6 separate regions of the Homo sapiens genome follow, and regions 1, 2, 4, 5 and 6 are each linked to region 3. Evidence: promoter capture Hi-C in 16 types of primary human blood cells and fetal thymus (Javierre and others, 2016). All regions are on one chromosome and are shown on one strand. Each heading gives the region's core, a stretch centred on a gene start or on the middle of the fragment in contact. The rest is flanking DNA. Distances are from core to core; before and after follow the strand shown. Region 1 holds the start of LOC105378498 (a long non-coding RNA gene). Region 2 overlaps ENO4 (enolase 4). Region 3 holds the start of VAX1 (ventral anterior homeobox 1). Region 4 holds the start of SPMIP5 (sperm microtubule inner protein 5). Region 5 has its middle 11 kb from the start of MIR9851. Region 6 has its middle 36 kb from the start of MIR9851.

Region 1 (5,017 bases), core at 344-2,843, 360 kb before region 3:
TTTCTATCTTTATTTTATTTATTTGTTTATTTATTTATTTATTTATTTGGAGACAGGGTCTCCCTCTCTATTGCCTAGGCTGGAGTGCAGTGGTGTGATCACGGCTCACTGCAGCCTCAACCTCCTGGGCTCAAGCGATCCTCCCAACTTAGGCTCCTAAGTAGCTGGGACTGCAGGCACACACCACCACATCTGGCTGATTATTATTATTATTATTATTTGTAAAGACAGAGTCTCACTATGCTGCCTAGGCTGGTCTTGAACTCCTAGTCTCAAGCAATTCTCCCACCTTGGCCTCCCAAAGTGCTGGTATTAACAGGCATGAGCCACTGCACCTGGCCACCTGTGGTTCTTCTGAGAAGGGGCTCATTCAGTCAGGACCGGGGACCCTAGCTAGACTAAAAGTCTGGGTGAGCCAGGGGACTTCCAAACAACTGCAGCCCCAGCTGCTCCCGTTGACTCCCCCTGGGCCCTCCTTCCTCCCACTCCTTTTCCTCTGCACAGCAGGCAAGGTCCCAGGGAGGCAAGAGCAGGCCCAGGTGGGCCCAGGCATTTCCCCAGCCCCTCCAGAGGCCCAGGATGAACTGGCCTGGGATGAGGCCCTGCTAATGAGCAAAGGCTTCAGTCCACTGAGCAGTACATGGTAGCACAGAAGAAGGCCTGGTACACCAACAGCAAATTGCATTTCCTTCTCAGAACCCTCAGCTCTGGTCTGGTACCCCCAGGCAACAACAGCCTAGCGGGCAGACAGGACAGGAGGCCTGGGAGCTGTGCGTCACTCAAAGCCAGACTGGAGAGTGACAATTGCCTTCGCAGCTCCCAGCGGGTTTCGAGAAGGTAACATGACCAGGGAGCAGTTCTGCCTCCCTTCTGTCACCTCTGAACCTCACCTTGGCCCATGGCCCCTCAACCTTGACTGATGCTAAGTAAGCAGTCTCCTCCTCCTTATTCCCTGGCCAACCTGCCCAGCTCACAGTGGGGGCCTCAGCCAAGGGTTGTCAACTGCAGCCTGAGAAAGTCTTTCTCACTGACTTGCCCCAAGAAGGGATTCCACTCAGCTGACAATTATGAAGCTCTGGCTGGTCCCTGGTCCTGGGCAGGGGCAAAGCTGCAAAACAGCCCACAGGGAGCTCACAGTGCCTGTGGTAATGATGATGACGATGATGGTGATGATGCTGACAATGGTCATTATCATGGTGACGGGGTGGAGGACTTGGAGCCAGGAGACCTAATTACAAATGATAACTATGCCACCATTCAGCTGAATGACCTTGGGTAGGTTACTTACCCTCTTTGGTCTTGAGTGGCATTCACTATGACATGGGGTGGGGGAACCTGCTCTGTGGCAAGGGCTTTTTTTTTTTTTGAGACGGAGTCTCGCTCTGTCCCCCAGGCTGGAGTGCAGTGGCGGGATCTCTGCTCACTGCAAGCTCCGCCTCCCGGGTTCACGCCATTCTCCTGCCTCAGCCTCCCAAGTAGCTGGGACTACAGGCGCCCGCCACTACGCCCGGCTAATTTTTTGTATTTTTAGTAGAGACGGGGTTTCACCGTTTTAGCCGGGATGGTCTCGATCTCCTGACCTCGTGATCCGCCCGCCTCGGCCTCCCAAAGTGCTGGGATTACAGGCGTGAGCCACCGCGCCCGGCCGGCAAGGGCTTTTTTGAAATATTTGCCATAGAGCACTCTGCGAGGGTCCCAGGTGATACTGCACCAATGCCTAGTTCAGTCCCTGACCAGTGTGGTCCCTGACCAGCAGCATTAACAACTCTTGGGCACTTAATAGAAATGCAAATTCTCAGGCCCCAAGGCAGATCTACTGACCCAGAGACTCTGGGTAGGGCCCAGCAACTGCACATCTCACACTCTTGCCAAAGTGTGAGAACCCCTGGAATAAAGAAATGTCAATGGTGCTCTTGGGTCTCTTCACAGACGTGGCTCTGCTAGAGGACTGGCCTTTTGGAGCAGGAGTTCATGGCCCAGATCCATCTCTTAGGAGAAAGGATTGGAGAGTGGGACATTGAGAGGGAGGCCTTCTGTGCACCCCTTCATTCACCCACCAGAAAACCCAGGTCCACCATTGAATAAGCTCCTCCCCCAGTCCCATGCCTGCCCACGTGGCCCTGGCCTGACTCCACCCTGACCCTGCAGGCTGCACAAGCCTGGAGCCCTCCACCCTGGCCCCTGCAGGCCCCAGTCCTGCCGGCTCCTGCACCAGCCCCTCGTGTTGGCTATACTGCCATGGCATAGGTCCAGCTGGCATCCTGTCACTCCACTCCCTCCCCAAGGGCCCCAGGTCGACTGCTACACACCCACCGCCACTGCTCCCAACTGTGCTGCTTTGGGGGACTCCAGCATTCCTTTGCTCCCTCCCGCCCATCCTGTGGCTGTCTCTGCTGAGTCACTCTTTATTAGTGTCCTCCCAGACACCTGGCACAGGTGCCCCCAAGGGATTGGGCCAGAAGCCAATAGCAGCAATTGCTGCCATTTACCAAGTGCTGATTCTGTACTAAGAACGTGCGAGTTCCTTATATCAGTTATCCCACCACTCACAAACCTATGGATAGGGCCTCAGGACTCCCATTTTACAGATGGATGAATTGAGACTCAGGAAGGAAAGATCCCAGGGTCACACAGGGCCACATAGCCAGTGAGACGGGAGCCTGGGATTTGAACTCCTGCCTGTCCGGTTGCAAAGCCAGCTCTCTCTGTCACCCCACACTGTCTCTTCTAGAGAGCCCTGGGGAGGACGGGGGCCAGCCAGTGGGCAGCCTGGGAAGGGAGTCTCTGTAGCTGGAAATGGCCAATGTATTTTCTAGAAACAGGAAATCTAACATTGACCGTGAAGTTTGTTTCCTGGTCAGTTCTGTCTGTTCCCACTGACAGCCTCGTGATACTGACTTTCAGGGCACCCGATGAGAGGGGATGGAAGAAGGACCTCCCGCCTCTCCCCACAGGAGTGCTGGGTGAGCCCTGACTTTCCTCAGTGCTCGGATGCTGGGAAGGTGCTGGGGCCATTTCATTTGCTTGCTAAAGGAAACACTCAGGCCAGGGGGCCAGAGGATTTGGGGACATCAGGGCACAGAAGTAACAGGGGGCTTTCAAGCCCTTTCCCAACTCCTCCCCGAGACAGTGACCTGGCCTAATCCTGCAGCCCCTATGACCTCTCTGTCCCTGGGGTCTTGTGAGGGCTCCTGCAGCTGGGGAGCTATGCCTTCTACTGTGGTCCCCAGCCTGGCACAGACTCTCTTATGTGACTCCACCAGGGACTAGACTGGGGGCAGCTGAGTGCCATAAAAGAAGTTAATGTGGCCTCACGTTGGTGGTGAGTGAGGGGCTTTGGGTCTACCTGCCATCCTCTGCGTCCCCTCTGGCCTCCAGTTAAGTGACCCATCCCATTGGTCTCTGTCCACTGAGCTGACTGCCCCCCAGTACCCAAGACAAGTGCCACTGCTCCTGGTTCCCAGGTCCCTGTTTTGGGTGACCACCTCACCCCCTCCCTGCCTCAGCACCTCTGTGGCCCACCCCTGGGACTCCTGTGGGACACAGGCAGGTGTCATGGGTGGACAACAAGGAGCATCTCAGGTCCGTCCGCCTGGACGCCCCCCTCTGCCTCGGGATTTCGCTCAAAGCAGCCTCCAGCTCTTGGCCGCTTCCTCCCGCTGGTCTCACCCCCAACAAACCTCTCCCAGGCAAAGCATAGTGCTTTCTCCTCTGCCTTCCTGTCTCCCAGGAACTCACTTCCATTGTATCCAGAATTCCTTCTATTTATGGCTTACAGTAAAACTCTACGCTCAAAATCAGCCGGGATTGATTCCTTATATTTAGAAAGAAGCTTTGGAATTCAGAAAATTTTTTTTTTCTTAACAAAACCCGGCATTCAAGACTATTGTTTTGCCTAGAAGACAAAACAAAATGGAAAGCCTAATTTGATCGTCAAAGTGAACAACGAATTTATTATTGTAGCAGAATCCACCGCTTCCCTGAAGTACTCAAGCCATTGATTCAGTGGATGCCACAGAGCATCAAAATATAAGAGCAATTAAAAATACATGAGTTTTATTTTCTTAATTGTTAACTCCATATACAATGCTTAAAACTCTAAAAACTGGGCTTAATGTAATCTTAATTAGAATCATAAACACTATTTCAGAATGTATTTTAGATGTATATCCTTAAAAGTTTGATGCAAATATGATAATTTAGGGATGTGAGGCATCATATAAGATGCTTAATGTCTGTACCAGGAATCTGGACTAGGTTCGAGAATGGGAGATATTGACAACCTGGACTTGGTTCAAGTTTGCTTTTAATTTGATTTACTGCAGAAGCATCAAGGAAGCAATGCACAGGGGAAGGAGGTTGTAAGAAAGCTCCTGGGTGGACCATGGCTCCTGTGTAGCCCGCTGAATTGTTCTCTGACATGAGTAGTGTGAGACGCCAGCCAGGCTGGAGGGGCGCTGAGCTGCAGATGCGCCCCTTTTCTTCCCTGCCTCGTCAACACCCGGGTGTTAAGTTCTTGCCGCGTGGCACTGGGTGGTCCCCCCACATCTGAGGCTGCACTGCAGTCTCCCATTTATGCCCCTTGGGAACTTTACATGGACAGCTCAGGCATGGCCTGTCACACTGACAAGCAACCAAAATAATCTAAATAATAAAAGAAATGACTTAAAACAGTATCTTTTAGAATAATTATTGCTATGAGTTTCTTTGCAAATTCTGCAGTTTTCAAACATTAGTCCTCAGGTGGACGGAGCCACAGAGCAGCTGCTGCTGGCCTCTTCCTCCTCCTTCCTGCCCCACCTGGTGCCTCCACCCTCACACCCAGTTCCCAAGAGCCTGCCACTCAGGCCTCCTCGTGCCCAGACCAGACAGGGACATGTGTGGACTTCCCAGGTGTACATATCCCCACCATGGCTGATTTTCAGCTACCCACATGATGTCACCGAATACGGAGTTGTAAAGAGACGCACGCCACTACGTTTCCATCCCAGAGCTGCAACAGACACAAATAAGCTTA
Region 2 (4,346 bases), core at 822-3,321, 270 kb before region 3:
GATAGGAGTGGAACCAGGGTTACTGCAATCACCATGCTTTGTTTTAGTAATAGAGTGATAGTTCCTGATGACATCATTTGGCTGGTGGCAGAGATTAGTAGATTACATCATGCCAGATTTATTTTGGCATAACTCACTCTCCCTAGGAACTCCTGAGTTGCCTAATTCTTATTAAGGAAAGATTATATTTGTTTCAGTTTTTAGCCATTTTTAAATCCACTTAGTCTGAGAACAGCCATTCTAGAATACATTGCATTTTTTATGATTAAAAAGGCTGCCAGCCTGGGCAACATAGTGAGACCCTGTCTCTACAAAAATATTTACCAAAAAAAAAAAAAAAAAATTAGCCAGGCATGGCGGTGCACGCTTGTTGTCCCAGTTACTCTGAAGCCTGAGGCAGAAGGATTGTTTGAGCTCAGGCGTTCGAGGCTGTAATGAGACATGACTGTGCCACTGTACTCCGGCCTGTGTGACAGAGTGAGACCCTGTCTTTAAAAGAAAAGGGGTAGAGGTGGGGCTGGAGATTTTGACTTCCATTATGTAACAGCTTATTCTTAGTAAGGTAGACAGAAAGATGTCACAGGTTGTTTTTTTCCCTGGTTATTTTTTGCTGTTGCAAGGCCCTGTGCTAGGTGCAAAAGGGGAGAAAAACATACTTCCTGTCCTCAGGCAGTTTAAAAGTCTCAATGAGGGAGCATAAAAAACATGAGAAATCCAATAATAATGCAAACCAAGACTGTTCTTTAATGTTTGCCATTCTGAATTGGAGCCAGTAATCACTATTGTCCCCCGATCACATCACATGACTTCCCTTTGCCCTTCTGTTCAGGGTCACTGTATGTGCATATACTTGAGTGTGAACCATACCTATGCTTGACAATCCTGCCTCAGTTTACAGAATCAGTACACGCTGAGCATCCTTTAAAAGATTAGATCCTTGCAATAATATGCACCCAATACCCCAAATGTGGGAATGCCTCTTTGGGAATTACCTTTGCTTTTAACCTCATGACACTACACCCACCAGATTCACCAGATTTAATGACCTTTGACTGTTTCAAATCAAAGTCAAAACCACCCTGCAGGAGAAAGTGTTTGCACTCTGAGAATATTCAAAACAATATGTTGGGCCTGTAAAAGCAAATCCCGCAGTGGGGTTAAGCCCTAAGGGCAAGGAGGGGACTTTGTATCCTCCTGCAGAAAAAGGGTGCCTGCACACAGCAGGAGTTCATGATATATGTGTGAATAACACATTATTTATATGCATAGAAATGCATGAATCTGTACACACACCCCATATATGTGACTGGGGGCAGAGGGTAAGGATGAACTAAAGGAAACACATTCCTGAATTTGAGAAATAGTTTGTGGCATATAAAGTAGGGAGTGGCTGGAATCATCCCTATGTGCATGAGTGCGTGTGTGTGCGTGTATGTGTGCACACGTGTGTGAGATTCAGTGTTGCTGGTCAGGTCTCAGAGCAGTAAGCTTTGCTTGCTGCCACAGCCATGCTAAAAATTCCAGGTGATACATTTTTATCTTCTGCCCCACAGCCCTCTCCTCCAAAAGCAGAGACAAAAAAAGGGCACGATGGAAGCAAAAGAGGTCAAGTAAGTCTATATATTGTTTACCATCCTTCCATATGACACTGTCTATAAATTTCCTGCCCCTTTTTATCTTCCATAGTCACTTTTTGCTCCAAGACCAGGACTGAGGCAAATGGAAACCATATAGTGATATTGCTCCAGACACCCCCAGAGCTGCAGTATCATGCTGCCCCTGCCTTCCAGCAACAGGCTGCCCGACCATCGCTGGCAGCAGCTGTCTGACCATCTGGAATCTCACAGGGCTAGGAAGCATTTATGAGACGTAGGGTTACACTGGACCCTATAGGGGAAGTGTTTGGGAAGTCGAATCTCTCTGACAACTAGCTGAAAGGCACATAGGATGTTTTACATTTTATTATTAACAAAGAGAAAAACAAGAAGCACAAAAAGATGGCTATTCCTTCCATCTGGTCCCCCAAAGGCACTGAAGCATCATTTCTGACGAACCATTGCAGGAACTCCGATTTTGCCAGGAGAGTGAGGCGAACAGCCCTCCTTGTCAAAACCCGTTCGCTGGCTTCAGGAGCCTTGGGAGACCAGCTGAACTTGATCTGTCAGTCACGTTGGTGATTGTGAGTGCGCTGATAGATGTATCTATTATAGCCTAAACTTTCAACAATATAAATAGAAGAGCCAATAAGAACTTTGAAGAGCATGCACATGGGTGAAGGTTGCTCGCATCTGCAGTATTTGCTTTGGTTTGTGAGCGAACAATCTTTGCCCCACCCTGATGTTAGGTACATGAGAGTCAGCTGAAGACAAAAAAAAGAGGGGCTAGGAAAGAAGGGAGAAGACATGGCAAAGATAAAAAAGTGAAGTTTCTTTTTAAGATCAGGAGAGAGAAGAGAAATGTGTGAACACATACAGCGGTAAGTAAAATCCTGTCAACAGTTTGTATATGTTGGAATGAGCACAGCCTTCTAATATTAGGCCTTGCAAGAGGTGGAGATGGTAAACAAGCCACCAATTCTCAGTGCTGTGCCTTCATCCCAGCAGGTGGTTCTCTGCATGCTGGGAAACTTAGACCAACATCAGCCTTCCCTGTAATAAGCTTTACTACTACTTTTTCTTTTTCCCATTAGAAACAGTCTAGAGTATAGATTCCAGAGAGGCAGCCACACAAGAATTAGGGGTATAAACTCTGGTGCTAAATTGCCTGGATTAAAATCTGGTTCAACTTAGTTAACTCCGTAAAATGGAGATCATAATATCTTTGTATGATGTAAGGAGTAAATGTATTTACTTTATGTAATGTGCTTAGAACAGTACCTGGCATTTAGTAAGCACCAAATAAGTGATGCTTTCATAGTTTAGAAGGCTCTGTAACAAAACTCAGTTGATGGACAAAAATTTCCCCAACTATTGCTTTGTTTGCCAAATAAAAGTTTCTTCTCATTGACATTAAAATAGTGCTATCACCAGTCAAAACAGAATATTCATTCCCGGGTTCATGTTTGTCATTGAGTTTGGTGCACACACACACACCCCTTACCTTAAGCCCTCAGATTCATTGATATTGCTTCAATTTATAATTGCATAGTGGCAATTTATGGCGAGGGCACATCAAGGCTGACTTTGCAGTAGCTGTCTTTCCTTGGGGTTATGTGGGTCCTGAAATCATCTTCCACTAAAATCCATCTTCAGTATTGCATCCTCTTAGTGGAAGTCTTCAATCCTTTTAAAGTGGCCAACACCTGTAATCACAGCACTTTGGGAGTGCTGAGCACAAGACTTCAAGACCAGCCTGGGCAACACAGTGAGACCCTGTCTCTACAAAAAATAAAAAAAATAGCCAGGTGTGGTGGCACATGCCTGTAGTCTCAGCTCCTCAGGAGGTTGAGAAAGGAGGATGACTTCAGCCTGGGGAAGTCGAGGCTGCAGAGCCACGTTCAAGCCACTGCACTCCAGCCTGGGTGACAGAGCAAGACACTATCTCAAAACAAATAAATAAATGAAACTTCTCCTGAAGGAGGGCTATGCTTTTAATGGCTGCGTTTATCTAGAAGAAAACAGAACATACGAAAGAGCAGGTTTGGAGGAAAAGGACTGGCAGAGCTAGAGACAGACAGGGTGGACATTTACAGGGAGGGCCTGGAGATTCACCAACTGGGTGGTTGTGACTCAGGCTAGCCCCATGTACAAGGAATGGCAGCATCCATAAAGAGAGAACACAGACACACTAAAGAGAGAAAAGTGCACTCCCAGGCCAAACTTGGAAACCTCAGGAGTAAGAAAATTACTCCCAGATACTGCAGGGGAATCATATGCCCTAAGTCATGTGAATCAATCCTAAGTAGGATTGAGAATCAAAGGACTGATCTTTGCAGAGCTATATCTGATCATAAACCATGCTTATCACAGGAAGCGCCAAGAACCTTAATGTGCTGTATTGACATGGATCATTGTCTCTTGATCTTGCAGCAGCAGATCACTGGCAAGATGTCTCATCTTGGCTGTTTAACCATTAACTGTGACTCCATAGAACAGCCACTGCTTCTAATACAGGAAATCTGTGCCAACCTGGGGCTAGAACTGGGAACAAATCTGCATCTAGCTATCAACTGTGCTGGACATGAGCTGATGGACTACGTAAGTTTCCACTTCAGAACATTCACTTCCTATTGAGATCCATGATTTTTAAATTAGAACTCAGAAAAAAAAGAGCTTATCTGAATATTGTCCAAACAGATCTTATTGTTTTTTTATTAATATTGTGTGAAGGATCCAAATATAATGAGA
Region 3 (4,597 bases), core at 1,543-4,042:
ATTTTATAAACTAAGAGGAGTAGTAGCAGAGAGAATAGAAAAAGCTACCATACCAACTCAAACTCAAAAAGAACACCCCTATCTGTTCTGTCAGTCCTCAGCTTTCAGCCCAGATCCCGGACCTAAAATGCTCTCCACCTGCTTCAGGGTTGGGCATGGGGAAAAGGATCAGTCTTCAGAAAGAAGGCTGCCGTAGCTAGGCCAAGCTGGTGACATGCCACTTGGCAAGTTCTTGGGTCCTCTCCTGGGCCCAGAGCCCACATGGCCAGCTCCAAGGGGCATCATATGGATTTAATGTAAAGGGAAAGATCTAAAGCACAATCAGCAGTACTGGCTTCTGGGTCCTAGATCTCCTTCCCATCACACACCTCACACATCACTGGCCCAGAAGACAGGGTCTCCTAGGTGCTCAGGGCTGGGGCCAGCTCAGAATGGGGAAAGCCTTCCTTTAAGGGTCAGGGCAGCCTGATCTGCACAGGCAGATCTCCAGGAGGGCGTACACCTAATTCCTGGGAATCACCCATGGTGCTGGGGCAGGGGGTGTTAGATCTAGCCTCACTCCTGTAGAATGGGCCTGGACGCTGAGTACAGCTGGGTGGGCCCACAAGGGGTGGGGCCTAGAAATCTAGCCAAAATGGGGTACCCCAAACAAGGGCAAAAGTCAGTTCTTTGTAGAGCAGAAGCTCGAAGGAAATGCTCAAAACCGGGGGACAATAAAAATTCCAAAAGGACAGGATTTGGGGCCTTCTGGGCCTAGGCCAAGGTGGATAAAACATGGGCCCTGGAGGATTTGGGGATGGCAGGAATGGTGGGGGGAAAGGATGTATTATCTAGGGGAAGGAATCCTTAGGCCTGTCTTACCCATCCTTCCCATCTCCTCCACCTCCCAAGGGTAGTTCTGTCCAGAGCAGGTTAGGAGGTGAAGAGCAGGCTAGGTAGGGGTGGTGGGGAGGAAGGCTGGTGCAGAACTGTGTGCGGCCTGGTCGCCGGGTACCTGGGTCTCGGAGAGGTTAAGCTGCCGGGCGAGCTCGGTCCTCTCGCGGCCCACCACGTACTGGCAGCGCTGGAACTCCATCTCCAGCCGATAGAGCTGCTCCGCGGTGAAGGACGTGCGCGTCCTCTTAGGCCGGTCCAAGTCCAGGCCCTTGGGCAGGATGATCTCTCGGATGGACCCCTTGGCATCTGGGGAAGGGGAGATGTCAGCCGCCAGAACCCTCCCGTCCCCCTCCACCTCCTTGGCCCGAGCTGGATTTGGGGACACAGTCCCCAGAAGCGTGCAGTTTTGGGGATGGGGGGCGGGGTGCGGAGCGCGACCACAACCAGGTAGCAAAGACACTGTGTGGAGGGCAAGGGGCCTAACTCCATACCGCTGACCGAAGGAGGGACCACACTTTGTCTTTTTGTAGAGTCCTCCAGACAGGGGAGAGAAAAAAATCCAATCAATTCCACATAGGCGGACGTTTCTTCCGGCCTGGGGGGGCCTCGGCTGAGCCTTCCGGGTCCCCTGTAGCCTGAGGGTACCCTTGTCGCCCCGCCCGGGTCCTGCGGGCCCCAGCTCTGGGCTTGCCGACCAGACCGTGATCCAGACGTCCCCACCCCCACCCTCGAGTCTCCTTCCCTCCGGAGTCCGCGCGGCGGAAGGAGGAGGGACTGAGTCGGGGCCGGCCGGGCCCGGAGATCTGCTGCTGGCTGGGGCGGCGCCGGGCCGGGGCCCGGCCTCGCAGCCTCCGCCGCCGGGGCTAAGTGCACGCCGCGCCATCCGAGAGCGGCAGAGCAGAGCACCAAAGCGGCAACCGCGGCTCCGTAACCAAGCCCAGCTGCCTCTCCCGGCGGCAGCGGTCGGGCACCGATCGCGGCCGTGGGGTCCTCGGCCCAGTGCACTAACTGGCAGGGCCGTAGCCCGCGATCGGCAGCTGTTCTCCGGGGCTCGCGTTCCCCCTTGGGTGCGCTCAGCCCTCCAGAGCGCGGGAGTCCCCTGGCCGGCTCCCGGCAGGTCGTCCGGCCCTTGGAGCGCGCACACCTCCTCCCGGAGTTTTCTGCTCCTTTCCCGGGTCGGAGGCCGCAGCCCGATGCCCGGCCGCACCCGCGCAGCCCCTCATCTCCCCCCGCAGCCCGGTCAGCGGGGCCCCTCCGGGCGTGGAGGGCCGAGGCCCCTGGAGAGCGCACCGGAGAGTCCCAGGCGCTTGTCCCCAGCCGGACTCGGGGCGGGGAGGGCCAACAACTTTCTCCCAAGTCCCAGCCGGCACTCCTTCCCACCGGCCTGTGTCGGCGGCAGCGCGCAGCTCCGGCCCCGGAGTCGACCCCAAAGAACGCGCCTGGCAGCCCTGCCCATCCCTACCTCGGACCAGGATCCGGCGGCAGTAATCCGGGTCCGCTGCGGAATTGGATTTACTTTTGTTACAATCCTCAGCAGCGCCCGACGCTGAGAAGGCGCCCTGCGGCTCCTTGAGGAAGGCGGCTGGGAGGTTCCCCTCCGCGCCCTTGCTCTCCCGACTCTCCTTGTGCGCGTTCTTCGAGACCCGGGCAGCCTCGGCGTCCGAGTGGCATCGAACGTCCATTTTGTCTGGTTTCCCGAACATAGGCAAGAACAACAACAAAAACAGAAAGGAAAAAAAAAGCAAAAAAAAAAAAAAGGGGGGGGGGCGGAGAAGGAAAAAAAAAAGAGGAAAAAGGGGACAAAACCCCCGACAACGCGGCCCGTACGCCCGGCCCGGCGACAGGCAAGGGGCAAGAATGAATGTCCCCGCGGGGAGGCTTCGGCGGCCGCGCGCGGGTCAGCGGCGACGGGAGAGTGGCGCGCTCGCCGAGAGGCGGCCAGTCTGGTCCAGGATCCTGGTGGAGCTGCGGCGAGGCCGCCTCGTCAGCACCCGCGTCCTCTGAGCACGTCCAGTGTCCCCAGCCTGGCGATCAGGTAGCGAACAGCGCAACTCCGAAATGCTGCGGCTCCCGCCTGTTTCTGAGACGGCGAGTTGTAGTTGTCCGACACCCGGGGGGACGCACACTCGCTGTTGCAATTGATTACGGGTAATTTCGCAGCCCCCACGTTTCGGTTACCTCATGAATACACTAAATTGTTTGGATAATATATCAGATCGTAATGGATGGTTTCTGTCCTTGTCCCCAATCAAGTAGGGGTTTAGCCAGTGAATAAACGGAAATGATTGGTCTTGCTTTCAGGAAACACACAATCAAAGACCCACACTTCCAGAAAAACTTTTGACAAGATTCATCCTGAATTGTTAGTACCATTAGCAGGCATTATTAACTTTCCTTTTGCCTTTGACCCTCCTGCTCACATACTGGCTAGAGGGGTTTTCTCCACACTCGCCAGATAGAGCTGAATGAGGGTTGGGCGGCGGGGGGGTGTGGGGGGAGAAAAAAAAAACCCTGCGCACCCTGCGGCAGAAGAAAGCAGTTGTCTGGGAGTGGGGGATGGGGGACAGAGCGGGGGGAGAAAGTTTTCCCAAAAAGTATCTCCCTTGCACTCTAAAAAAGCCAAGATTTTCCCCTAAACAACTCCTTCTTAACACACCTCGACGCAGACAGCCATCTTAAACTGCCACCTCTCTTCATTTAGTTCCAGTTGGATTTTTTCATGCCTGCACCTCCAGCAGCCCTGAGGCAGCCCATTCAAAGGGCAGCTTTGTACTCAGAGTCCAGCAGGAGAGAGAGGGGGAGAGGGAGAGACGGCCGAGAAATCTCAACTGTGAGATCTGCTTCAAAAAAAAAAAAAAAAAGTTTTCCCCTAGCTATTTCATTGTCTCTGCTACAATATCTTTGAGAAAAGCAACAGCCAGTAATCCAATAAGAGCATTGATTAGGCTACAATGATTCAATTCAAGCGCATGGCCTTGTGCAAGGAGCATGCTCCAGCCCTTCTCGTCACCTTGCCGGGGCAGAAGCCCTCTCCACGCCGCTCTCCCCATTCATTCCTTTATGGGAAATGCGGAGCAAAAGGAGTGAAAGATGGCAATTATCTAATTGGACTATTAACAAACAGTCCTCTGAGTGCGGCGGTCTGGCGTGGCTCCTGGGCGGGGGAAGGGCCGTGTTCCCTGCCCTCATTCACAAAGAGTGCAGGGGCCGGGGAGGAAAGGGGTTTTTTAAAGGGGGTGGGTGGGGGGAGAGGAGAGGTGGGAGGTTTGGCTGAGAATTTTTCCACACAATTCCAAGAATGGGGCGGAGGCGGGGGGAGGGGAGGGGGTTGGGGAGGGGGTCGCGGCGAGCGGGTGGGAGGAAGGCCGGGAGGGGGAGGGGTGCGAGTGTGTGTGGCGGGCCCCTAGGGGCTCCAGCTCGCAGCGACGCGCGCACCGTCCGCACCTCCCGCCCCGCCGCCACCTCCCCTGCCTCCGCCGCCACCCCGCGGGACCCCTCTACCGTCCCAAGCCAGGAGGGGGCCCCCTGAGCGGGGTCTTTCGCGCTGTCCACCCAGCCACCCCTCCAGCCACTTAGGGGCACCCAGGTTTGGCCCAGCTCCGGAGGGCATCTCTGGCCCTGCAGGCCGACATCAGGCTTCCACTTTAGTTGACTGGGCGGAGCGGTGGAACTGTCCCGAGCTACTCTCCGCAGGGCGGCGGGTTTCCAGGGTCCCCAGCGG
Region 4 (5,010 bases), core at 358-2,857, 470 kb before region 3:
ATCAAAAGTCACTGCCTTAAGGAATTACTATTGAGTGTGCACAAGCTCTTGGGAGTGGAAGAATGACTGCCAGGAGTTGGGGCTGAGAGGCAGCACTACCACCTTACCCAAAGCCAGAGACACAGCTGGCTTCAGTCACAAACCAATGACCTATTACCAAGGGCCCATCACCTTTTATGTTAACTTGGATAACAGTGTGTAGATCACACCTACCAGGGTCTCCTCTCCCCTCCATCCGACCTCCAGCCATCCAACAATTGTGAACTGTACTCATACTATGGCTGTGAAACATGATAGAGGCTGGGAATGCAAAGCTTCTGAGCAAGCCCAGAAGCCCCTGTGTTAGGTTCATGAGCCTCAGGTGAGGAGAGAGATGAGGCCCGCACACCCCCAGACCTCCTTCTTGATCCAGGTGAAATCAGGTTGCAGTGGTGATTTTTGCCAGCCCCCACCATTACCCCTGGAACATCTGGCAATGTCCAGAGGCATATTTGGCTGTCAGAAGTGGGGGATGGGATGCTACTGAACATCCTGCAATGCTCAGAAGCCTCCCCCCACCCGCCGGCACACACATGCACACACACACACACACACACACACACACACACACACAAACAAGGGAGAAGAAATTCTGGCTTGAAGGAATCAGGAAGTCCCAAAAGGCAGACATGGAGTCCAAGGAGGGTAAGCAGAGGCCACCCTCTGCTTCAGGGGGCTCCACTGAAACATCAGTTTATGTGGATGCTGTTTCTGCAATAAGACACCTTCCCTCTTTGGGTATCGCTGGTCATTCCCCCCAAGTGGGCTGAGGCCTTGCCAAGTCCTGCCCTGCTGAGCCAGTTCATCTCTTTAAAGAAATGCCTTTGAGGCTGGAAGAAGAGGATTCAGGGTGGAGGAGAGGGCCACAGTCATGGCTTAGTCAGCAATGATGGGGATTGTTAAGACAGTTCAGCCCCCGCCAGGCTGACAGCAGTGAGGACTGTGCCGCGTCTAGGCCACTCTAACCCCTGGCATCACGTACCTGACTCCTGGGAGGAAGCACTGGGCCTGGAGTCAGACAGACCTGGCTGTGAGACCATGTCCCACCCATACTGACCACCTGCTTACTTTTCTGAAAGCTTTCCACGCTTGTTTAATCCTCTCAACAGCCCCATGATATAAATGCTATATTATACCCATTCCCCAATTTAAAAAGGCAACAGACAGGGAACACTGGCTATCCCCATGTGGTTGCAGCAGAACCGCATTCTCCTTTAATCCCCACAGCTTCCCTAAGAATGAGTTCCTGTTGGAACCCCCATTTTATAAATGTGAAAAATAAGGCACAGAGAGGTTAGGTAACTGGTTTCAGGGTTCCAGAGTGAAAGGGGGTGCGAACAGATGACCTCTAAACTCTCAGGGACAGGATATGTTGCCCAAAAGCATCAGCTGGGGTATAAGCCTGCCTGGAGGAGGTGGGCAGGGAGGAGGGTGGGAAGAAAGGCGGTGTCCTGAGAAAGGGGGCTAGGAGTGGGTAGAAAGTAGGGCCCCTCCTAGCCACCCTCTTCCAATCCCACCTCAGCGCTCACCTGGGCGGGGCTGGCGCTATCCGGTGCCCACTTGGCCTCTGCCCGGCCGCCCAGGATCCCTGCCTTCCACCAGGCCTTTGTGCGCTCACCCGGTGGAGCACAAAGGCCCCACCACCGCCAGCCTGCCCCTCCCCCACCCTTCCCGCGGTCCCACCTGGAAGGTGGGCGCTTCCCCCAGCGCCCGGCACAGCCCGGACCCCGGTGTAAAGTCGGGCATCTGCGCAGTAAACATCTGGCCTCGGAGCTGTCCTCCGCGCCTTGGCTGCCCCAGCCAGGGGAAGGATATGCGGAGGGCTCTAAGTCAAAGCGGGCGTTTTTGCGGGTGTAGACACTGCGGCGCCTGGGTCTGCAGGTCTGGCCGGGGAAGCGGGTGGGCGGGAACAGGGGGCGGGGCCGGCAGTGGGCGGGAGGAGGCGAGGCCTGGGGGCCCTGGCGCCTCCAATACAGGAGCTTCCTGGGCCTGGCAGCCCCTCCCTCCCTGTCTCCTGTTAGGAGGGGCAGATTTTCAGGTGGCCGGGACAGGTGAAGGCAGAGAGGAGTGGCTGTCCACCTGGGGAAGGTGAGTCATCCTTCTTTCTAATCACTCTTGGAGGGACACCCAGACTTCCTCTCATTGAATTGAAACCCACCAAGATGTCCGCCCTATGAACCAGCATGTGCTGGCTGCTCCCTTTACAGAAAATGACGCTGAAGCTGCGCTACTTCCAGGACACGCTTGTTTGCTGCACCTCCCGGCCTTCCCTACCTCTACTTTTCTGAAAATTGAACTGCAAATGAAGGCTGGTGGAGCCGACCACCATTTATACCTCTCTTTTATCACCCCATTTAGAACATACCTCGGGCCATCAGGAAGCTTTCAGAGCCAACTGTGGAGGGCGACTCAGGTGTAGGCTCTGGACACAGCCAGTTTCACGTGACGGCTGGGATGCCCAGGGGCAAGAGCCCAGCCAGGCCTTCTGCATGTTTTAATGACTTACACTGGGGTGCAGTGGCATTGGCAGTGGTCACTCTGCTTACCTGCCCTCCCTCTGGCTAGACCACTTTCTTCCAGAGAAAAGGGGCTCTGTGCCCATCGATGGGGCCTTGGTTCCCAGCAAACAAAGGGCCTAGTCTTGTTAGAATAACTTAAGAAAACTTACAGCACCTGGAAAAAACTGAAACTCTCTCTCCACCACCTGAGATGGGGTAGAGAGGGAGATCAGTACTGACGTGTCCATCATGCAGTTTGCAAACCCAGGATGGGGGGAAAAAAAATCTGGGCCACATGAGATTCAGAGTTTTGCTTTATTAGGCGTCTGTGAAGACAAGAGAGTTTGCAGACACAGTCCCGTCTGGTGGTGAACTGCTGCAAAGTTCTGTGAAGTTTGAATTTATCTTGTAGTGAATGAGACCCCAGTAGCTGATATTTTAGAATACTGGTCCATATTTCAAGCAGATGAGAGGTGTGGCATTATGGCCAACAACTTTTATATTAGCCATCCACTCAAGCCGTTTCCCAGCATACATATGCAGCTTAATCACAGCTATACATCTCTACAATGTGAAATTCGATCTTTGACTAATAATGCATTCTGACTCCTGTTTACATTGGTGCATGCGATTCTTTGCTACCCTGGCAATTAACCAGACCTGGACTCTAAAAGCTAAACTTGGTCTAAATAACATTCTAAGGGTAAGGCAACCTCTATAATCTGGACTCAGCCATCATTTTGCAAAAACAGTTGTATGGTTCCTCCTCTTTCCCCTCCTGTCTGTAACTTGTCTGTTACTCAGCATTTATTCATGCCTGCTGTGTACGGAAAGGGCAGTTACAAAGGAAAGCCTTGATGATTCTGCTTCCAAGAAACGTGAAGATCAGATAATATGCCAGGGACAATTGAGTAATGGGTCAAGACAACAGGCCTTGTAGGTATTTTCTAAGGTTAGAAAAATGTGTTCAAGTGTACTTATCCAGTGCTCTTATTCTAGAATATTCCAGTGGGGGTAGGGAAGGAGGGATGGATTTGGGGGTTTCATTTAAGGACTCTGACAACTGGGGCTGCAGCTCTGTGGCCAGAAGATAAAATTATCATCCTCTCCATCACCTATCTGCCAACACTGCAGATTTCTATCTGCTCATTTAAGAGAAACAGTACACAGGGAGATAGCATTAATGCAAGGCAGGAAAGGCTTTACATTAGCCCAAAAAAGAGGGGCTTGACCATGTTACTCACACTTACACTTAGCCCAGCAGAAAAGCTGGGCTTATGTACCACTTGGTTTCTTTCTTTGACCCTAGCATCCTGAAAACATCACACACAGTGGACCACGCTTTGCCCTCAGAGTGACTGCTCCGACCCGGAAGGAGAGGTCAACGACCCCTCAGGACACAAAGGGTTTCTTAGGTTGTTCTGCGCAGTCACATGGCTTCCAGAACCAGAACGTTCAGCTCTTAAAGTCTGCACAGAAGAACTGATAGAATCTGCTCCTTTCAATGGAATCTGTGACTGTTTGGGAAGGATGTGCATGGAGAAGGGTCTGATGAGGCTCCTGATCCAGGCGGTCCACGTGCGTTCAGTGTGTTTGGACCCTAGGCACCTCTGTCTATTGCTCGGTCTTGCGTACATAGTCCATAGCTTGGCATCAGCACAGATCGATGCTTAGTGAGCACAATTAAGAAACCAAACTATGGAAAATTAAGGACAGTAACAAAAGTATCATCAACAAAAATCAAGCATTTTCCTCTTTTTGAAACAAGAAAAGCGCATCGTAGAAACCAAGATTCTGTACAATATTCTAACATTATATGTACATAAAATTATATTACTCATAACTATATTGAAAAGTCTTATTTGTAGAATATGGCTGGCAACAAAGAAAGACCCATACCATTTAGCGTTTGAAGCAGGGCAGGTAGCAAGAGAACATTAGCAAAGACACCTTTGTGCCTGGATACACAATCCTGCTACTAAGTTATGTGACTAACCAGCACACTCTAAGTTCTGTGGTTTGTTCGTTGTTTCACATTCTAGTAGGGAATTCTGCAGCAGGCGATGCGAAAAAGAAGACATGGTCAAATGAAATGTGAAATGCTGTTTAAAATCTGCATATTGGCTATGATAATGGGTTTGTGAATCCAAGTTGCATTGGAAGTTCACTCATTCTCCATTCATTATGCATGCCTCCAGTGATTTAATGAATTTCAGCAGGTGGAAAAGACAGCTTTGAACAGATCAGATGGGCTGTGAGTCAGATTCTTGATTCTTTTTCCTCATTTGGCTCCTGAATGTTGCAGAAAACTGGTTTTGTACACTGGGGAAGGAGAGAGTGAAGACCCTCCAGTTGGTTCCTCAGTCAGCTCCGTTCTTGGTGTCGCTTTCTTGCAATTTTTTTCCTCCCCTGGCCCTTCCTGTGAGGGTTAAAAGGGCCATCTCCAAGCCAGGTGGAGCCCCAATCCCATTGA
Region 5 (4,937 bases), core at 820-3,319, 320 kb before region 3:
AATTAAATGAAAATTCTAGAACTGAAAACTAGAATAACTAAAATTAAGTCAGTAGATGGTTTAAAGGGCAATTAGAGCAGAAAAGATCACTGAATCAATAGAAAATACTCAGACAGAAGCACAGAGGAGAAGCCAGAAAAGATTCTAAGAGACATAAAGTCACACATGGAAGGTCTGACATATAAGTGGAGTTCCCAAGGCAGAGGGCGGCCAGCTGTTGGTGAGGATCCATACAGGAACCCCCTTTTTGCCTCCTAGCCTTTCCCTTATCTTTGCTCACCTGTGACATATCTCAGCAAGTGAAAAGCCACATCTGCTACCTACACCCACCTGCACCAAAGATGAACTTTTTCCCCCATGGGACTTTGCACTCAACTCCAGCCAATAATGGGTTTGAACATTTTTGCTAAACTGTAAAAACTGGAGTTTCTCTGCTGGCAGTCACTCTCCACCCTCCCTCCCCAGTATTCCTGATGACCCCTCATCCAGCTGTGTCCTAGTGGAAAGGCCAGACCAGGACTTGGGCCAGACTAGACAGCTCAGAGCCAAAAGAGAAAGGACATTTCTGGGACCTGCTGAATCACCACCAGGTAAGGACATCTGGGAATGAGTACCACGGACCATTGCGAGATTGGGATCATCTTTCACCACCATCACCTTGCTGGGAAGTTACATACCTCTCCTGTTCTGTATGAGAGGGTGATTGGGTTGCAAATTTGTTTTCTAAAAATACAGCCTACGTTATAAAGGGGGGAATAAGTTCCCTTCAACCAGAGCTAAGACTTAGTTTCCTAAAACCCATCAGATGGAGAGCAGACAGCAAAGGGGCAGTCTGATCTTTTCAGTAAACTGGGATAAACCCTACACTCTTTTTACACCATCCCCTCTTCTTGCAGTTATGCAGTTTATTTACAGTTGACTTTTGAACCTAAGTACACGACTTTACATTTATCCCTACCCATTTTTTTTTTTAATTAGCACCAGCTCTTTTCTTATTTCTGAGATATCTTTGAAATCAGCAGCTGATCAATCAGCCAGCCTCTTCCAACTTTGGGTCACCTATAAATCTGCCCAGAGTGGTGGATATCCTCTGCCTCAGATCCAAAAGACAAAAAAAAAAAAAAAAAAAAAAAAAAATAGACAGAGGGCCAGGCCCAGGGACTCATGCCTGCAATCCCACACTTTGGGAGGCCAAGACAGGCAGATCACTTGAGGCCAGGAGTTTGAGACCAGCCTGGCCAACATGGCAAGACCCCATTTCCACATGTAATTTTCTGAATACAAAAATTAGCCAGGTGTGGTGGTGCGTGCCCGTAGCCCCAGCTACTCAGGAGGCTGAGGCAGGAGAATTGCTTGAACTCAGGACACGGAGATGGCAGTGAGCCGAGATCACGTCACTGCACTCCAGCCTGGGCAGAAGAGTGAGACCCTGTCTCAAAAAAATAAATAAGTAAAATAAACAAATAAGCAAAAAACCCAGGAAGGAACTAGGAAACTGCTACCCCGTTTTATACAGGTAAGTAGATTCTCTAGGATAACATGGCAGGGCCCTGACTCTGTCATTTTCCCTCGGGCCACTCCCTCCAACTCCCCCACCAAACGCTGCCAGCCACAAATCCTTCTTTTCAGTGCACTCTGCCTGCTGCTCGGCATGTGCTGTTGACAAGGCTCAAAAACAGAAAGCTTGTTGTTGGAAGGGCTGTATTCCCAAGCAGTGCATCTGTAAGACAAAATGTGTATCTCCAGGGAATTCGTGTTTCTGCTCTCCCTCTCGGCCCCCGCGGCCCTAAGAGGAAGGAGCCGGGCTGTGGATTGGAACAAATCCTCACTGAGCACTGACTGGGCCAGACTCTGTGCTGAGCTGTGCAGGTGCATTACCTCCATCAAAGCCCACGCATCCTCTCTGGTGGGTGCTACTTCCTCATCTTATGGGAGAGGAAACTGAGGCTTGGAGAAGGAAAGGAACTCGCATGCTGGCCGCAGAGAGGAGTGAGTGGCATACCAGAACTGGAGTCTCAGCCCTCACGCAAAGACCACTGGCTTACTCAGCCTGATTACTCAGCAATCGCTGACCTTCCAGCTCCAAATAAGCCATTCTTTCTGCCACATTCATATCATCTTGCCCCTGACAGACGAGTGACTATATAAAACATTCCCGAAACCATTGTTCTTCCTGCTCAGCTGCCATCCCCAGAGGCAGAGGACACCTGGCCTGGTCTCTGGCACCCCGCATACGGGGCAGAGAATGTTGGCCATGTGCCAGGCAATGATGTTCCAAATTACAGTTTGATCAATGCACTCTTCACCTTTTCTCCGAGGCCTGGAGTTTTTAGCAGCTCTAACTCCAAACTTCACAGCACCCAAATCATGTCACTGAAGGAGCGAGCAGAGAAGGCGCCATGTGGCTCACGCACCTGACTTCCTAACCTTAAGCTGGTGAGACACACAGCTCCTGAAAGCTTAACCGGCGCCGTCCTGCTCACGTAAAACAGCCCCGACATCCAATTCCGATGGTTGCAGCTGCGTGGTCTCCCTGAAAATCTGCCACTCATGATTTTTTTAAATGGGGTTTTTCCTTCTTTTCAGGGTGACAAAAGTCTTCCTAATGAGAAATACCAGAGGGTTAAAATTGCCTGGAGCCCTCGCCAGTTTCTGGTACTATGGTTTAAAAGATGACTTTTTATGCTCTGGGTTACAAAACGCTTCCAACAACACCTTTGCTCAGTATTGGATTGAGGCTAAGTTTATTTTTCTGGTGGGGAAATCAATCCTTGAGCTGTGTTAAAACAATCAGCAGCTCCAGTCATGACATCACGATTCAAATCGTTCTTCCTTCTTATGTATCAACTATGCTGTCGAATGTGGAAACATGAAATCTACAGTTTGCTGGAATCATCTGGATTGTTTAAACTGTATTTCTTAGGCAGAAAGAAAGAATCATTCTTGCAACCTATACCCCTTCCCCCACCCCACCATGCAGATTTACTTCATATTTATTATTTTTTTGTTACAATTAACAAAAGGAGAAACCCATTTGCTGTTTTTTTTCCCGGGGATTTAGAACAGAAACTTCTACCGCCAGTGGCTTGTGATTCCACCCTCCACCCCTCGCTCTCTAGAAGTTTCTGAGGTCTAATTTTTTCTAACAGAGGCTTTGTCTGTAGTGAATGAACCCTGGCTACAAAGTCGGCTTAATTAAAACAATGGCATTCCAGAGACAATAGGGAACAAGGTGCCGGCTTCTGTGCTGGGTGCTAACCCTCGGCACAGCCTTCTGCGGTGACCTTAGTGGAGCTACTCCTGATGCCGTCAAGTTCAGGGACAGGCTGGTCTTCTATTCGCTCGGTTCAAGGCTCTGGCAGAGGAAATCCAGTGTGTGTGTGTGGGTGGGGGTGGGGGGGATGGCATATTCATACCTACACATAATGATCTTCTATTTAAGATTTCTCTGTGCTCCACCACCATAGCGATGGGTGTCAGGCTGCCAATAGAATGAAGAGAAGTGGAGAATCGCGGCCATTGTTAAAATATTTCAGGCTTGTCACCCAAAGTCCCCCAAAAAAACCCTCTGCCTCAAGAATGTGGGTCAGTCAAGATAATCTGCAAATATGAAGAATGTGGGTCAGTCAAGATAATCTGCAAACATGAAGAATGTGGGTCAGTCAAGATAAGCTGCAAACATGAAGATGATACAAGACCATCTCACTGCTTTCCGTCCGGATGCTGAGAGCAGCAGCAGCAGTTCGGTTGCCCTGGTCAGACACCTGGCAGACATCCTGGATCATTCGCCACCTCCAATTAGGCGCCGATTCCTGTTACCTGACCTTACAATGACACTCTCCCCTCCAGCTTCCTCTTCCTCTCCAGGGTCTCTGCCCTGAGTTAGGAGTGATCGTTTCTCACCTGGGCAACTGCATCAGCCTCCTGTCTGGCTTCCCTGCCTCTCACCTTTCCCTGGCCACACACTGCCAGTAGGGGCCTCTCCAACTAGGAAGACATCTGACCACCTCACCCTCTCCTTGAGAACTTGGATGGTTCTCCCTGAGCTACAGAATCAAGTCTCAATGCCTCAACCTGGCATATGAGCTTGGTCACAATCAGGGACCTACGAGCCTTGGTAGGTTGTCTCTCTTGGCCCCTGTAAGATCATGCTCCAGCCCAGGGAGGTAGACTTTGGGCCTGCCCCACAGCCAGACCTACCCTGTGGTGGTGTCCCAGGTCACCCACTGGTTCTCTTCCCTGCTTTACCCAGCTGCTTGATGCCAGCCATAATGGCAGTGATGTATGGAAGGGGGACACAGTTGCATCATAGGTTGTCTCTCTTGGCCCCTGTAGGATTGTGCCCCAGCCCAGCGAGGTAGACTCTGGGCCCGCCCCATAGTCAGATCGTGGTGTCCCAGGTCACCCACTGGTTCTTTTCCCTGCTCTGCTCAGCTGCTTGATGCAAACTGTAATGGCAGTGACGTATGGAAGGGGGACACAGTTACATCTCCATGTGCTGTCCCCACCAAAGCAAAGGCCACAAGCACCTCCCCACAACACACTGACACAGTGGTCTGATGTCCCAGAGGGAAAAATGTAACTGTCAGAGATAAGAAATGTTAGGACAAGGGACATGGGAGTATGTGATCCCTAAATCATGGTTCTGTTTCCATCAGTGAGTGTAAAAATCAAAATCTGTCTTGGTAAGAATTTTAAATAAAAGGAAAATGGTGAGAGATTTACCCCCAACACATTGCAGTGTGTCTCCAGGAGCAATCATCGCACCTAAGGGCACCCTTCCTGCTTCCAGGCTTGTACCTTGACCTTCTCTGTTAACCCTTTGCAGCCCCTGTCACTCTCTCTCGCTGGATTCCTGTCTCTCTGGGTCTGATGTTCCCATGTGTCTGTCTCCATTGGTCCCATTCTCCCTGAGACAGATGCTCCACAAGGGAAAC
Region 6 (4,698 bases), core at 912-3,411, 350 kb before region 3:
GTAGCTTTTACTTTCTCTCCCCTTATAAGATTTTTTAAAAATATTATCCTCTCGATGATAGAATTCTGAATCCTGAATGTGCTATGACTTAGCTGAATAATGCCCTGTTGGTGAACACTCAAGCTGCTTATACTTTTTCTGCCAGGAACAAAGCTACAGTGGTACCTTGGATGTAGTCACTGTGCACTTGTCTGATTATTCCTGCTGAGTAAATTCCTAGGCATGGAATTGAGGGTTCGTTTTTAAGGTGCATCATCCAGGATATTGACTATCAACACGTCGTAGAGTGAAGCTGACGTGACTGTTCAGTGCCCGTTTGCATTTCTGAAGGGCCTAATGTCTGCTTCTAGGTGAGGAGGGCATTATCTCTGGCCATGCTTCATATCCCTGGAAGCTCTCTCCAGACTACGGGTCAGGTTCACCGGATGCCCAGACGTCCCTCTTAAGGTCTTGCTTCCATTTATGGCTGCACCTCCACACCCACTGTCATCCTCACCCACCTCTGTCTATTCCCTCCACAGCAGCCAGTGAGAGCCTTCACCAGACCCTGCCCACGCTCCATCAGTAGCTTTGCTGCACACTGGAAATCAATCCAAGGTCCTCCCATGGCCCAGGAATCCCTGCATGGTATGGACCCTGATAATCTTTCTTTTTTTTTTTTTTTTTTTTTTTTTTTGAGACAGAGTCTCGCTCTGTCGCCCAGGCCGGACTGCAGTGGCGGGATCTCGGCTCACTGCAGGCTCCGCGCCCTGGGGGTTCACGCCATTCTCCTGCCTCAGCCTCCCAAGTAACTGGGACTACAGGCGCCCGCCACCTCACCCGGCTAATTTTTTGTATTTTTAGTAAAGACGGGGTTTCACCGTGTTAGCCAGGATGGTCTCTATCTCCTGACCTCGTGATCCGCCTGCCTCAGCCTCCCAAAGTGCTGGGATTACAGGTGTAAGCCACCACGCCCAGCCCCCTGATGACCTTTCTAACCTCACGTCTCCCTCCTCTTCCTGCCCTCAGCCCACTCATGCTGCACACTGGCCACCTTGCTGTTCCTGACGCTCCCCGAACATCCAGCCCCAGGGCCTTTGCACTTGCTGTTCCCTTTGCCTGGAATACTGATCCTCTACTCACAAGCCTCTTTCCCTGGCTTCATTCACAGCCCAGCTCAAATATTTCCTCCTTAGAGAAGCCTTCTGGCCCACCCTGCCTTAAAGGACACTCTCCATTCCCAGACCCCATCTCATTGTCTAGTTATCATTTTTTATTTTTTTATTGAGACAGAGTCTCACTCCGTCGCCCAGGCTGGAGTGCAGTGGCATGATCTTGGCTCACTGCAACCTTTGCCTCCCAGGTTCAAGCGATTCTCCTGTCTCAGCCTCCCAAGTAGCTGGAACTACAGGAGCGCACCACCACACACACCTAATTTTTGTATTTTTAGTAGAGACAGGGTTTCACCATGTTAGCCATGCTGGTCTCGAACTCCTGACCTCAAGTGATCCGCCCGCCTTGGCCTCCCAATGTGCTGGGATTAGAGGCATGAGCCACTGCACCTGGCCCGTCCAGTTATCTTTGTATTCATAGCCCTGGGATTGCATTCTAAATCTACGTGTTTATTTGCCTTTGATATTCTGCTTTCACTGAGTTACAAGCTGCACAGGAGCAGGAGACTGTCTGGCTAGTGCTGTGTCCCCAACACCCAGGACAGGCCTGGAATGTGCAGGCCCTCCCTCCACAAGTGTGTGCTGCTTGGATGAAGGAGAAGCTATTAACACAAGGATGTCTGAAGCTTGAAGAGCCTAGATAGGCCATTTCTCCCAACTGCTCCCAAAGGAGGTCAGATGTGTTTAAAGCATCTTTTCCATAGATGAAGCTTTATCAAGAAAATCTGACAGAACCTTTTCAATGCAACCATTTGGGAGAAAAATTGCAAATAGGTTATTATTCAGGAAAAATACCTTTCCTCCAAACCAGAGCAGCACATCCACCCAACATACTGGCTCCTTTAGAGAAAAGCAGAAAGGTTAATATCGCCCCGTCAGAGTAAAGCAGCCAATTAGTGCAATTGCAATTCAGAAGAAGAATAGAGGTTAATTGCTTGGAGTCCACATGTCTCAAATGCCTAATGCTATATCATTATTTTTTAGCTACATATTATTCATTTCATACACTTAAGAATTCTACCTTATTACTAATTAGTAATTCCTTATCCTTAAATTTTACCCAATTCAAGTTGTCATCATAGGGCCCTCCTCAGCCCCCATTTTCCCTAAGATGCAACTAAATTGTTGAGAAAAGGTTGGCATCTCCTATTCACTACCTCCCACCTCCAGCCCCTGCCAGCACCCCCGAGTTCACCTCTCCTCTTCCACGGGCATGTGGTTTCCCTGCCTGCAGAATCTTCCATCTCGGTAAACAGGCTTCACTCCTGCCTTGGGTGTTCTCAAGCATCTACTATGTCCCAGACAAAGTTCCAAGCTTATCGATTAGCTGGGCAAAAAGATGCCAATTCATCCTGCCCAGGTGTCTCTGTTCTCTTGAAGAGACCCACAGCTTGGCACCTTGGAAATGTTAACCCAACAGATCAGAATTTCCTGGGAATGTAATAATGATATCATTAATAATAATAATATAATAATAATGATGGCCATAAATACTTCTTGAACACTTTCAGGTCTCAGACACCATGCTCATGAACTTTACATGCATGATTTTAATCCATGGGAAGCCACGTACATGCATGTACGTTGATCACGTAAGCATGTGAGTGGGACAACCCCAAACCCAGCCCCAGTTCAGCATGGGCAACAAGAATGAAACTCGGTCTCAAAAAAAAAAAAAAAAAAAAAATTATCCATCAAGGAACAAGAATTGGGAAATGTGAAAGGAGGTTAAGAGACAAAGAGTTCGGAGTGAGAGGTTCTAGAAGGAAATGAAAGTAGATGAAGCAGAGGTAATATAAGAAGATATATGGGGGTGAGAACCTTCCAGAACTAATGATAACTATCAACCCCTGGATTCAAAACAAAATAAATCCAAAGCAAGAAAAAATAAAAATAAATCAGCTGGGCGCAGTAGCACATGCCCGTAATCCCAGCACTTTGGGAGGCCGAGGCAGGCAGACTGCTTGAGCTCAGGAGTTCAAGACCAGCCTGGGCAACTTTGCAAAACCTTGCATCTACAAAAAAAAAAAAAAAAAAAAAAAATTAGCCAGGCATGGTAGTGTGCACCTGTGGTCCCAGCTACTCAGGAGGCTGAGGTGGAAGGATCGCTTGAACCCAGGAAGTCAAAGCTACAGTGAGCCAAGATCGTGCCACTAACTGCACTCCAGCCTGGGTGACAGAGTAAGACCCTGTCTCAAAAAAGAAAAGAAAAGAAAGAAAAAGAAAGAAAGAAAGAAAAAGAAAAGAGAAAAGAAAAGAAAAAGAAAATCTATTCCTGAAACATCATACTGAAACTGATGACTAAAAAGACAAAGGGAAGATTTTAAATGCACTCAGAAAGAAAATATAGATAACCTCCAACAGAGCAACAGTTTGACAGCTGACTTTTTATTGGCAGGAATGGAAGTTAGAAGAATGGATGATTCATTTGATGTGCTGTGAGAAAAAATAACTGTCAACCTAGAATTCTATGCCCAGTGAAAATTCATTTCAAGAACAAGGTGAAATACAGACATTTTCAAAACAACAAAAACTACGAGAATTCTCCACTAGCAAACTACAATAAAGGAAACTCTAAAGGATGGATCCAAGTTTAAAGATCTAAAATGCAAAAGGAATAAAAAACACTAAATAAACATTAACTGCATAAAACAACAATGATAATGCCTTATGGAGTTAAAGAAAAACAAAACAGACTGGGCACAGTGGCTCACGCCTGTAATCCCAACATGTTGGGAGGCTGAGGCAGGTGAATGTCTTGAGCCCAGGAATTTAAGACCAGCCTAGGCAACATGACAAAACCCTGTCTCTACAAAAGATACAAGAATTAGCCAGGTATAGTGGTATGCACCTGTAGTACCAGCTATTCAGGAAGGTGGGGTGGGAGGACTGCTTGAACCTGGGAGCTTGAGGTTGCAGTAAGCCACGATCACACCACTGTTCTCTAACCTGGGTGACAGAGCAAGACCCTGTCCCCACTGAAAACAACAAACAAACAAAAAAAACCCACAGAATTAAAAGACATCACAACAATGGCATGCAAATCAAGAGAGGGAGAATGAAATAAAATTGTTCTGAGATCCTTGTACTATATAGAAGGAAGGTAAAAGCGTTACATTCATATCATAATTTCTAGGACAATCACTAAAATAATGGAAACAGAATATGTAACTTCCAACCTACTTAGAGGGGGAATATAAAATGAGAAAAAAAATCGAAAATATAATAAGAAAAGGAGAGAAAAAGAAAAACAGAAAGCATAAAATGAGATGGCACATAAAGTCCTAACATATCAATAATTACAATAAACATAAAGGGACCAGGCCGGGCACGGTGGCTCACGCCTGTAATCCCAGCACTTTGGAAGGCTGACGTGGGTGGATCACAAGGTCAGGAGATCAAGATCATCCTGGCTAATATGGTGAAACCCTGTCTCTACTAAAAAATACTAAAGAAAAATTAGCCAGGCGTGGTGGTGGGCGCCTGTAGTCCCAGCTATACTCGGGTGGCTGAGGCAGGAGAATGGCGTGAACCCGGGAGGTGGAGC

Evidence for each region. The method cuts DNA at HindIII sites, captures the fragments that hold promoters and counts their contacts. A CHiCAGO score of 5 or more calls a contact.
Region 1: a fragment that was not itself captured here is called in contact with the fragment with the promoter of VAX1 in region 3 in 2 of 17 cell types (monocytes and activated CD4 T cells); the score reaches 5.6 in monocytes.
Region 2: a contact is called between a fragment that was not itself captured here and the fragment with the promoter of VAX1 in region 3, in 3 of 17 cell types (M1 macrophages, endothelial precursors and M2 macrophages). The highest score is 6.4, in M1 macrophages.
Region 4: a contact is called between the fragment with the promoter of SPMIP5 here and the fragment with the promoter of VAX1 in region 3, in 15 of 17 cell types (naive CD4 T cells, endothelial precursors, megakaryocytes and 12 more). The highest score is 11.3, in naive CD4 T cells.
Region 5: a contact is called between a fragment that was not itself captured here and the fragment with the promoter of VAX1 in region 3, in 3 of 17 cell types (endothelial precursors, activated CD4 T cells and M1 macrophages). The highest score is 5.4, in endothelial precursors.
Region 6: a fragment that was not itself captured here is called in contact with the fragment with the promoter of VAX1 in region 3 in 7 of 17 cell types (M0 macrophages, megakaryocytes, M2 macrophages and 4 more); the score reaches 9.2 in M0 macrophages.

The regions. Positions count from the first base shown.
Region 1 is chr10:116,772,662-116,777,678 of GRCh38, forward strand. It overlaps LOC105378498 (a long non-coding RNA gene), which reads right to left and starts at 1,339. Exons shown (of 3, transcript XR_946339.2): 1 at 891-1,339. It also overlaps a transcript of HSPA12A not described here. RefSeq lists an enhancer at 2,215-2,714. The HindIII fragment of the contact is 4,474 bases long and covers 1-3,830 here.
Region 2 is chr10:116,867,097-116,871,442 of GRCh38, forward strand. ENO4 (enolase 4) reads left to right here. Exons shown (of 14, transcript NM_001242699.2): 8 at 1,554-1,610; 9 at 4,029-4,196. Among named protein-coding and RNA genes, the nearest start is that of ENO4, 20 kb to the left of the region's middle. The HindIII fragment of the contact is 1,170 bases long and covers 1,487-2,656 here.
Region 3 is chr10:117,135,478-117,140,074 of GRCh38, forward strand. It overlaps VAX1 (ventral anterior homeobox 1), which reads right to left and starts at 2,793. Exons shown (of 3, transcript NM_001112704.2): 1 at 2,339-2,793; 2 at 995-1,182. The coding sequence starts at 2,579. RefSeq lists an enhancer at 4,376-4,597. The HindIII fragment of the contact is 11,137 bases long and covers 1-4,597 here.
Region 4 is chr10:116,668,359-116,673,368 of GRCh38, forward strand. It overlaps SPMIP5 (sperm microtubule inner protein 5), which reads right to left and starts at 1,608. Exons shown (of 6, transcript NM_001350931.2): 1 at 1,569-1,608. It overlaps HSPA12A (heat shock protein family A (Hsp70) member 12A), which reads right to left. Exons shown (of 12, transcript NM_025015.3): 12 at 2,834-5,010. It overlaps HSPA12A-AS1 (HSPA12A antisense RNA 1), which reads left to right and starts at 1,697. Exons shown (of 3, transcript NR_187551.1): 1 at 1,697-1,920; 2 at 2,036-2,127; 3 at 3,847-4,380. The HindIII fragment of the contact is 1,303 bases long and covers 1,117-2,419 here.
Region 5 is chr10:116,814,139-116,819,075 of GRCh38, forward strand. It overlaps a transcript of HSPA12A not described here. Among named protein-coding and RNA genes, the nearest start is that of MIR9851, 11 kb to the right of the region's middle. The HindIII fragment of the contact is 776 bases long and covers 1,682-2,457 here.
Region 6 is chr10:116,789,444-116,794,141 of GRCh38, forward strand. It overlaps a transcript of HSPA12A not described here. Among named protein-coding and RNA genes, the nearest start is that of MIR9851, 36 kb to the right of the region's middle. The HindIII fragment of the contact is 605 bases long and covers 1,860-2,464 here.